Regions from separate parts of the Homo sapiens genome. Here region 2 is linked to region 1. Evidence: promoter capture Hi-C in 16 types of primary human blood cells and fetal thymus (Javierre and others, 2016). All regions are on one chromosome and are shown on one strand. The core of a region is centred on a gene start or on the middle of the fragment in contact, and the rest is flanking DNA. Distances in the headings are between cores, read along the strand shown.

Evidence for each region. Contacts are between HindIII fragments. The CHiCAGO score rates a contact against its expected background, and 5 or more counts as called.
Region 2: a fragment that was not itself captured here is called in contact with the fragment with the promoter of HARS2 in region 1 in 11 of 17 cell types (naive CD4 T cells, endothelial precursors, non-activated CD4 T cells and 8 more); the score reaches 8.7 in naive CD4 T cells.

Annotation. Positions count from the first base shown.
Region 1 is chr5:140,687,605-140,693,252 of GRCh38, forward strand. HARS2 (histidyl-tRNA synthetase 2, mitochondrial) reads left to right here and starts at 3,851. Exons shown (of 13, transcript NM_012208.4): 1 at 3,851-4,152. The coding sequence starts at 4,045. HARS1 (histidyl-tRNA synthetase 1) reads right to left here and starts at 3,766. Exons shown (of 13, transcript NM_002109.6): 1 at 3,611-3,766; 2 at 3,251-3,340. The coding sequence starts at 3,700. RefSeq lists enhancers at 3,473-3,702, 3,863-3,952, 4,033-4,102 and promoters at 3,701-4,151, 3,701-3,822, 3,794-3,820, 3,885-4,201. The HindIII fragment of the contact is 4,332 bases long and covers 1,430-5,648 here.
Region 2 is chr5:140,384,170-140,389,817 of GRCh38, forward strand. All of the region lies in intron 1 of ANKHD1-DT (ANKHD1 divergent transcript), which reads right to left. LOC124901087 (a long non-coding RNA gene) reads left to right here. Exons shown (of 2, transcript XR_007058967.1): 2 at 2,404-2,620. Among named protein-coding and RNA genes, the nearest start is that of ANKHD1-DT, 14 kb to the right of the region's middle. The HindIII fragment of the contact is 1,149 bases long and covers 2,372-3,520 here.

The DNA of each region.
Region 1 (5,648 bases), core at 2,601-5,100:
ACTGAATTTTTTAAATTAATTAATTAATTAATTTATTTATTTACTTACTGTGAGTGCATGGCAGTGAAGAACACACTGGCTATTAGTACAGTTTAGTGTCACTGTCTTAATGTATGCTAAGGCACCAGCAGTTCTACTCACCAGCGCTTTTGTGCCTTCAGTGCAAATGTTAACACAACGAAAAAGGCAGATAATGTCTTAGAATTATTATAGAAGGGCCAGGCGCAGTGGCTCACGCCTGTAATCCCAGCACTTTAGGAGGCCGAGGTGGGAGGATCACTTGAGGCCAGGAATTCAAGACCAGCGCAGCCAACACGGTGAAACCCCATCTGTACTAAAAATACAAAAAATTAGCTAGGTGCGGTGGCACATCCCTGTAGTCCCAGCTACTCGGAAGGCTGAGGCAGGACAATCGCTTGAACCCGGGAGGCGGAGGTTGCAGTGAGCTGAGATCACGCCACTGCACTCCAGCCTGGGCGACAGAGCAAGACTCCGTCTCAAACAAAACAAAACAAAACAAAACAAAACAAAACAAAACAAAAGAATTATTATAGAAATAGTTTTGACCATGAAGATCCCTTGAAAGAGTCTTGTCCCCACAATACTGAGTTTTCTATTGTTAATACTAAAATGGATATTAACTCTCTAGCATAATCTTAACACTATAGTATGGAAATTTTCAAAGACACAATATAGAGAATAGTATTACAGGTCACCATTTATCCATTACCCAGCTTCAACAACCATTAACATCTGCTATTCTTATTTCATTTAAGCCCTGACATGTTTTTCTTACATATTTTTAAATAAATCCCAGACGTCATATCATTTCATCCATAAATACTTCAGTATGAATCTCTAACTCATACGGACATTTAAAAAACCCCAAAGACTCTATCTTTATTATAACTAACAAAACTAACAGCAACTCCTTAATATTATCTAATGCTAAGCCATGGTCAGTTTTCCCCAGTTGCCTCAATAATATCTTTTTATGGTTGATTTATTTGAATCAGCTTCAGAATGAAGTCTATGCGTTGTAATCAGCTGATATGTCTATTTAATCTACAATAGTTTCCTTCCCTCCCCAACTTTTTTTTTTTATTTTAAAAAGGTCATTTATTAACTGAGGAAATTGGGCCATTTGTCCTAAAAAAAAATTTTCACATTCTAGATTTGGTGAACAATATGCTTGATGTGCCATCTAACATGTTCCTCCATCTCTAGTATTTCCTGTAAACTGATAGTTAGTCCAAAGATCTGATTAGATTCAAGTTCAATTTACTTGGCAAGAATACTTCCCAGGTGGTGCTGTGTACTTCTTCTTGCATCACATCAGCAGGAACATAATGTCTAGTTGTCCTACTTTTAGTGATGTTAAAACTGATCACTAGTGAGGACAGACTGATCCATCATAAATTCCACAGTAAGCTTTTCATCTAATAGTTTGAAAAATCATTGATGATCACCACTTTGGGATTTTACACTGTCTCTTTAACCTTCAAAAATTAGTTATATGTAGAAAGAAACAGCTCAATGAATTTAGGATCCCAAAGAATTAACCTTAACACAAGGAAAACAGACCATCTCCCCTCTCCTTTGGAATTCAATTTCAAATACATGTATTAAATAGAATCATCCCTCAGTATCCACAGGAGATTTGTTCTGGGCCCCATGTGAATACCAAAAATCCATGGATGCTCAAGCCCTTGACATAAAATTATATGCACATCCTCCTATATACTTTAAATAGTCTCTAGAGTGTTTATAATGCCTTAGACAATGTAAAGGCTATGTAAATAGTTGCTATACTATATTTTTTATTTGAAATTTTTATTGTTAGATTTCAAAAGGTTTTTATTTGTTTGTTTGTTTTTAGAGATAGGGACTCACTATGTTGCTCAGGCTGGTCTCAAGCTCCTGGGCTCAAATGATCCTCCCCTTGTGGCCTCCCAAAGTGCTGGGATTACAGGTGTAAGCCACCACACTCAGCCAGATTTTTTTTCTTAATCGTTTCTTTTCCCCTGAATGGTTTTGATCCACAGTTGGTTGAATCTGTGAATGTGGGACCTTGGGATATGGAGGGCTGACTATACCTATTTAGGCATCTAGTCTCAGTCTCAGGGTAAATAAACGACATAAATAACTACTTAAAGTTGGTGTAATAACAAATATGTATGAAGTGCCAAGAGCACCTAGATGAAGGGGTAAACAGTTCTGTTTATAGAACTTACAGAAAGTGGAACTGAACTGGAGGATGAGCTCAGAATCTCCAACCTCATTCCACTCTACTCTCCTTAACTTAGTTCTAGCCATGTAGATCATCCTCTAGTTCCTCAAAACTACCAAAGTTCTTTCCCACTTTAGGGTTTCCATACTCTACCTGGACCTATCTTTGTCACACTTGTCCTCTGGCTATCTCCTACTCATTCATTAGATCAGTTAGTATATCACTTCCTCAGTTAGCCTTTCTCAGACTCCCCAGTTCTCCCTTATTTTTCTCAGAGCAACCTTAATTTCTTTATATCATTTTTCACAATATGTAATTACATAACCACATGTGGTGGCCGGGTGCGGTGGCACACGTCTGTAATCCCAGCACTTTGGGAGACTGAGGCGGGCAGATCACTTGAGGTCAGAAGTTCAAGACCATCCTGGCCAATATGGTGAAACCCCGTCTCTACTAAAAATACAAAAATTAGCTGGGCATGGTGGTGGGCACCTGTAGTCCCAGCTACTCAGGAGGCTGAAGCAGGAGAATCGCTTGAACCCAGGAGGCAGCGGCTGCAGTGAGCCAAGATGTGCCACTGCACTCCAGCCTGTGCAACAGAGGATACTCTGTTTAAAAAAAAAACAAAAAAATCTGTGTGGGATTATTTGTTCTAAGTCTCTCTCCTTCAGTAGAATGTAAGCTCCATGAGGGTAGGCTATATTGTCCACCATGGTATATATTCAGTGCTTTGTATAGTGCTAGAGACATAGCGCTAAATACACATTTATTGAATGAACGAAGGAGTAGCAGCAGCAGGCTGACTCCCCTGATCACCCAGCTGGCCTAGTTTCTGCCATCACTTTGCCATCCCAGAATGACTCAGGTAGAGTCCAGTCCAGCCCAGCGCCCAGAGCGACTGTCCTCTCCTCTGCAGCATTTCAGATCCTCCTCAATGACCTGGTTTAGGGAGGCAGACATAAGCGCCCCGTGAGTAGAGTTAGAGACTTTCTCAGTGGCTCCCTACAGGAATGATATTACCTTGGGGGTTTTGAGCACAAATTTCTGTTTGCTTTCATCAGGACCCAGCTGTGCCTTCAGTTTCAGGAGTTTCGCCACCTCCTCCTCGATCTGTGGAGGGAAAGAAGGCGCTGAGCTATCCATCTGTCACTCTCCTCCCTCCCCCGCCATTCATTCAATATTCCTCCCTCATCACATCTCTCTGCTCAGGCCTAGCTTTGTTTCTCTCGGGACCCACCCCGGATGTCTCCCCACGCAGCCCACTCTCCTCCCTACAAGACTGGTCGCTTCCCTCACATCTCTACCCTATGTCCCGAACACCCTGGCTTTACGTCCTCCCAGGCTTTGCCTTGGCCCTCTCCCCTGCTGCCTAAATCTCACCAGCTCGGCGCTGGCCTTCTGCTGCTTGAGGCCTCGCACGCGCTCTCCCTGAAGTTTCACCAGCTCCTCCAGCGCCGCACGCTCTGCCATCCCGGCTGTCCACTTGAGCCGCCTGCTGTCTCGACCTGCGGTGGTTGCCCCAGCCTCAGCAAGGATGACTTCCGGCTATCGAGTCGCTGGGTCGCACGCCTAGAGAGCCTCCGCCGAGCACAAAAATTATTTCCGGCTCCTCCCGGAAGTGCCGAAGCTGGCTACTAAGGGAACTTGGGAGGATCCCACCTCAGCCTTCGTGACTAGTGAGGTGCGCAAACGCCCGAGTTTTCCCTGGTGCGCGGGTTCCGCCTTTGCAGTGCCCTCCACCCTTCCTGGTGTCTGACCCGCCTCCTTCCCAGGCCTTTTGTTCCTGTCCCGGAAAGCCGGCGTCCTGCCGCGCGATGCCCCTGCTCGGACTTCTTCCCAGGAGGGCCTGGGCTTCGCTGCTCAGCCAGCTCCTGCGACCGCCCTGCGCTTCGTGCACCGGGGCGGTCCGTTGCCAAAGCCAGGTGAGCGAGACAGAATTATCTCTGGTCTGTCCCAGCAGGGTCTCCAGATCTGAACGCATAGCCTCGCGGCCTGTATTCCAGTAGTGTTACAATCGGTTTTTATCGAGTGCCCACTATGTACTGACACTGAACTAAGCGATTTGGATGCCTGGTCATTTAATCCTTGGAGCAATCTTGAGAGGTTGGAGTTTTGATTTCCATTCTGCAGTTGAGGAAACGGAGGCTGCAAGATTAAATGAATGACTTATACACGGATATGTAGTAAGGGAGTATTTTAATTCATATCCACACTTTTTCCTGAAACTCTTGGACTCAAACAGTAACATTTTTAAGCGAAATATATGAATATTCCTAGTAAATGAGATGACTAAAGATCAGAAGTAGACTGAGTTCATCTTAGAATTTACCTCAAAATGAATCTCAGAAAAACATTTTCAGATGTCAGAGAGTTTTGGATTTTGGAATTGCAGATAAGGGATTGTGTACTTGAACTTGGACTTCTCTTAGGGCAGATAATCGCCATAGTATGGAACCACCACATCCTCTATTTTTGGAAGGGCATACAGCGTGCTGGTAATGTCACTGATTAAGTTTTGCCTTACTTCGGAAAGATTCTAATGCTCTCTTAGCAGATGCTTTGTGCTATCGTGAACAATAGGGCACAGATCTTTTATTGATATTCAATCACAGCATCTTATCAGTCTGAGTTTTTTAGCTCATTCAAGAAATCCATATCTTATCATTCCACAGGCTTGTTCTGTGTCCTTGAGCTGGTTCCCTTGTCTTCAAGTTACAGTTTTCCTCTCTCTAAACCTGATAACCAGTGCTACCTTATTAAAAATTATTATTTTTTTGTCCGGGCACAGTGGCTCATGCCTGTAATCCCATCACTTTGGGAGGCCAAGGGGGGTGGATCACCTGAGGTCAGGAGTTTGAGACCAGCCTGACCTGTATGGCGAAACCCCGTATCTACTAAAAATACAAAAATTAGCCGGGCGTGGTGGCATGTGCCTGTAATCCCAGCTACTCGGGAGGCAGAGACAGGAGAATCGCTTGAACCCGGGAGGCGGAGGTTGCAGGAGCTGAGATCGTGCCACTGCACTCCAGCCTGGGCGACAGAGTAAGACTCTATCTGAAAAAAAAAAAAAAATTATTTTTGCTCTTTCAGTAGGAACGGTGACCTGGAGAAGATCACCATAATCCCTACCCCTGAATGGTTGGTGTTGGTAGTGGTGGGTTGTTCAGTGCCTTCATTATTCTCAGATTCTTAAAGTATTTGAGAATATTAAAAATGCGGCTGAGCTCGGTGGCTCATGTCTGTAATCCCAGCACTTTGGGAGGCTGAAGCGGTTGGATCACGAGGTCAGGAGTTCAAGAGCAGCCTGGCCAACATGGTGAAACCCCATCTCTACTAAAAATACAAAAATTAGCTGGGCGTGGTGGTGGCGCGCCTGTAGTCCCAGCTACTCGGGAGGCTAAGGCAGGAGAATTGCTTG
Region 2 (5,648 bases), core at 1,696-4,195, 300 kb before region 1:
ACCACCACACCGGGCTAATTTTTATATTTTTAGTAGAGTCAGGGTTTCACCATATTGGCCAGGCTAGTCTTGAACTCCTCACCTCAGGTGATCCACCCACCTCAGCCTCCCAAAGTGTGGGATTACAGGCATGAGCCAACGTGCCTGACTGAAAGGATCATCTTTTTGATACATGGTGCTGAGAAAACTAGATATCCACATGCAAAAGAATGAAGCTGAACACCTACTTCACATCGTATGTAAAAATTAACTCAAAATGGATCAATAACCTAAATGTAAGAGCTAAAATATTTCTTAGAAGAAAACATAGGTATAAATCTTTATGACCTTGGATTTGGCAATGGTTTCTTAGATATGATACCAAAAGCACAAGGAACAAAAGAAAAAAAAAAACAAATTGGACATCATCAAAATAAAAAACTTCTGTGCACCAAATGACACTGCCTAGAAAGTGAAAAGACAACCCACAGAATGGGATAAAATATTTGCAAATATAAAACTGATAAGGGACCCAAGATAATTTAAAACTTATGTCCACATAAAGACATACACAAATGTTCATAGCCGCATTATTTATGACAGACAAAAAGTAGAAATAACCCAAAAGAGTCACCAACCCAAACTGATGAATGGATAAGTAAAATGTGTTATATCCATACAGTGAAATATTATTTGGCCATAAAATGGAATGCAGCACCCACACATGCTACAAGAAGAATAAACCTTGAAAAACATCATTCTAAGTGAATGAAGCCAGTTACAAGGATCATATATTATTCCATTTATATGAAATATCCATAATAGGCAAATCTATAAAGTCATAAAGTGAACTAGTGGTTGCCTAGGGCTGGGGGCCTAGGGATAATGGCTATGGGGTGCAGGAATTCTTTTTAGGAGTGAAGAAAATGTTCTAAAATAGATGTGATAAGCACGGCATGGTGGCACACACCTGTAGTTCCTGCTACTCAGGAGGCTGAGGCCAGGAGTTAGAGGCCACAGTGTGCTATGATCTTGTATGTGAACAGCCACTGCACTCCAGCCTGAGCAACATAGCAAGATCTCATCTCTAAAAGTTAAAAAAAAAAAAAAAAGATGTGATGATTGCACAGCTCTGCATATAATAAAAGTTATTGACTTGAACACTTTGAGTGAATTGTGTGATATGTGAGTTATATTTTAAGAAAGCTATTAAGGTGGGGTGCAGTAGCTCATGTCTGTGATCCCAGCACTTTGGGAGGCCAAGGTAGGAGGATTGCTTGAGTCCAGGAGTTTCAGGTTGCAGTGAGTTATGGTTGCACCACTGCACTCCATCCTGGGCAACAGAGCAAGACTCTGTCTCTAAAAAAAAATAGATAAAAAAAATAAAGCTGTTAAAAAATAAAAAGAATGGTAAGGGCCAGAACCTAACAGCAAGGTCAAAATGGGGAGGTTGAAAACCTCTAGGGCCTCCAAGACCAAAGGAATTACCACTTCTGGACAAGAACTGGGGAATTTTTCAGTACCAATTCCAGGAACCTACTAGCTAAGTGAACCCAAGGGAAGAATCATGGCCTTGGGGGGTTTCTCCAGGTTGTTTTCAGAGACATGTTTGTTCACCTTCCATTAATATATCCACTTACAAAGGGGATTATAATGTGCAGTGATGCAAACTAGACCATGTTCCTTCACTAGATCCTCTGCTATTTTCCCTATCTATTTTTGAGACAGTCTTGCTGTGTCAGCCAGGCTGGAGTGCATTGGTGGGATGTCAGCTCACTGCAACCTCTGCTTCTTGGGTTCAAGCGATCCTCCCACCTTAACCTCCCAAGTAGCTGGGACTATAGGCGCCTGCCACCATGCTCATTTAAGTTTTGTATCTTTTGTAGAGATGGAGTTTCACCATGTTGGCCAGGCTGGTCTCAAACTCCTGAGCTCAAGTAATCTGCCCACCTCAGCCTCCCAAAGTGCTGGGATTACAGGTGTGAGCCACTGTGCCCGGCTTCCTCTGCCATTTTCTTTCTTTCTTTTTCTTTTTTTTTGAGACGGGTTTCCACTCTTGTTGCCCAGGCTGGAGGGCAATGATGCAATCTTGGCTCACTGCAACCTCAGCTGCTGGGGTTCAAGCAATTCTCCTGCCTCAGCTTCCCAGGTAGTTGGGATTACAGGTGCACGCCACCATGCCTGGCTAATTTTTGTATTTTTAGTAGAGACGGGGTTTCACCATGTTGACCAGGCTGGTCTCGAACTCCTGACCTCAGGTGAATCTGCCTGCCTCGGCTTCCCAAAGTGCTGGGATTACAAGCATGAGCCACCACAGCTGACCAAAAAAATTTTTTTCAAAACAAAAAAATTTAATGAGAAGAGTGGCATCTTCAATGTCTGGCTTTATAAAAGCTTGATTCTTATATCTGCTTCTGTATTCAGTCAAATCCATGAGTGTTTTGGTTGAAGAATATGAAGAAAATCTGGCTCAACACAGCTATGTAGTTGGAAAAGGAAGAAATACTTCAACAGATTTTTCAGAAAACTGGATATTCCCTTCAATACACCAAAATCCAACAACTGTTAGTTTCTTAAAGGTTGAGACCATAACTATAAAATGTCCATACTCTGTTATATTAAAATCCATTGGTCTATCACATACTTTCATTCTGTGTTGTTGTTTTGAGACAGGGTCTTGCTCAGCTACCCAGGGTGGAGTGCAGTGTCTGCAATCACTGCTCATTTCAGCCTTGACTTCCTGGGCTCAGGCGATCCTCCCACCTCAGACTACAGGCATGTGCCACCACACCCAGCTAATTTTTTATATTTTTAGTAGAGACAGGGTTTTGCCATGTTGCCTAGGCTGATCTTGAACTTCTGAGCTCAAGTGATCCTCCAGCTTTGGCCTCCCAAAGTGCTGGGATTATAGGCATGAGCCACGGTGCCCAGCCCTAATCAAAAAAAATTATTTGTAGAGACAGGGTGTCCCTATGTTGCCCAGGCTGGTCTGGAACTCGTGGGCTCAAGCGATCCTCCTGCCTCAGCCTCCCAAAGTGCTGGGATTACAGGCCTATTATGTACTTTCTTTTTTTTTTTTTTAGATGGAGTCTCGCTCTGTTGCCCAGGCTGGAGTGCAGTGGTGCCATCTCAGCTCACTGTAACCTCTGCCTCCTGGGTTCAAGCGATTCTCATACCTCAGCCTCCCGAGTAGCTGGGACTACAGGTGCTCACCACCATACCCAGCTAATTTTTGTATTGTTAATAGAGACGGGGTTTCACTATGTTGGCCAGTCTGGTCTCGAACTCCTGACCTCAAGTGATCCACCTGCCTTGGCCTCCCAAAATGTTGGGATTACAGGCATGAGCCACCGCGCCTGGCCTAATATACTTTCAGTGGATCTTTTACACATGTATGATTTTGTAACATCATGATTGGTCATTTGGAAAACATTGGTTCACTGAACTGTGCAGATCTTTCAAATATTGACACATTTTTATTATATAATATAAAAAACACATTTATTAATACCATGATTTATCTCATCAAAAAAGTTTTTAAAGCTTTTAGAAAACTGTCAACCAGGAATATATACAATTTTCCAAAATTCTCATTTTTGCTCAAAGGTTTTGAATTTTATCATTGGAAATAAATATTGTCAGGTGTTTTCCTTCAAGTGACAGGCTCCAGAGAATGTCTGCCAAATATCCACATCTGAATTACCAACATTTGCCTGTCAGTGCTATTTTCAAGTAAAAATGGTGTTCTATGAAAACAAAAAAGGCCAATGCAGCTTGCAACCAAAATAGCTATGCTCCTTGAGATAACAAATGTACTTTGATATATAGCAGAAGTGCTCTGTGTATCCTTCTCATTTCCTCACATAGAATATTAAAAACACTTGTACTCAAGGGTCAAGTTTTAATAAAATTAATTTTTACTGCTTCATCAAGGATTCTTAATAAAATCGGCCTTTTCCTGCTTTGAGTGCCCAATGGGGAAGAATACATTTACTGCTAGTACAGTTTGATACCATTACCTAATACTGTGCTGAGGTACCAGCTATCTTTGTTTGTTTTTTAGAAACAGGAGCTCACTCTGTTGCCCAGGCTGGATTGCAGTGGTGAGATCATAGCTCACTGTAGCCTTAAACTCCTGGGCTCAAGCAATCCTCCTGCCTTGGCCTCTTGAGTAGCAGGGACTACAGGCGTGCACCACCACACCCAGCAGTACCAGCAAATTTTTAGCCCCCCCCCCCATTGCTTTTGTACCATCAGTGCAAGTCAATATAGTGAAAAATAATATATTAGAATTATAATGAAAATAGTTTTGACTTCATGGATTCCCCTGAAAAGGTCTTGAGGGCTGCAGGAATCTATAGAGCATACTCTGAGAATTGTGGCAATATGGCCAGGCGCGGTGGCTCCTCCCTGTAATCCCAGCACTTTGGGAGGCAAAGGCGGGTGGATCATCTGAGGTCAGAAGCTCAAGACCAGACTGGCCAACATAGTGAAACCCTGTCTCTACTAAAAATACAAAATTAGCTGGGTGTGGTGGCGGGCTCCTGTAGTCCCAGCTACTTGGGAGGTTGAGGCAGAAGAATTGCTTGAACCTGGGAGATGGAGGTTGCAGTGAGCCAAGATCAAGCCACTGCACTCCAGGCTGGGTGACAGAGCGAGACTCCATCTTAAAATAAAATAAAATAAAAAGCTGGGTGTGGTAGTGCATGCCTGTAATCCCAGCTACTTGAGAAGCTGAGGCACAAGAATCACTTGAACCTGGGAGGCAGAGGTTGCAGTGAGCTGAGACCGTGCCACTGCACTCCAGCCTGGGTGATAAAGTGAGACTCCGTCTAGCCAGGTGGGGGTAAGAATTCACCGGGTGTGGTGGCTCACGCCTGTAATCCCAGCACTTTGGGAAGCCAAGGCAGGTGGATTACTTGAGGTCGCGAGTTCAAGACCAGCCTGGCCAATATGGTGAAACTCCGTCTCTACTACACACACACACACACACACACACACACACACACACACACACACACACACAATTAGCCAGGTGTGGTGGTGCATGCCTGTAATCCCAGCTACTCTGGAGGCTGAGGCAGGAGAATCGCTTGAACCTGGGAATCGGAGGTTGCAGTGAGCCGAGATTGTGCCACTACACTCCAGCCTGGGCATCGCAGCAAGACTTTGTCTCAAAAACAACAACAAAATTGTGGTAATATACCCGTGTATGTGTGTGTATGTCAAAGTATAAGTGAAATATTTCTTCCCTAAGTTCACATTTCTCTGAGTTAAATGTAACTCCCTAGATTTTGCCCAAAAAAGTACATTCTAACTTTTTTAAATTTTATTTTTCTTCTTAATTTGTTGGATAAACACACTAATAATAACAATAAAGATTTTCAAAAACAAAAAAAATCTACTAACTCTCTAAAGTTTGGTTTTAAGGTAATAACTGGGGTGGTTTTGGAAAATAGTTTTGTTACCAAGGTGTTACATACTCATTGTAAACAAATTCAAACAATATATGCACAAATAAAATGATATACTTCTAGTAAAAAACTGAAATAATTTCACTTTTTCCCTCACTTGGCAGTGTACCATGCACAATCAGCCTTCTGATTTTCTTCTTTTTTTTTTTTTTTTGAGATAGAGTCTTGCTCTGTCGTCAGGCTGGAGTGCAGTGG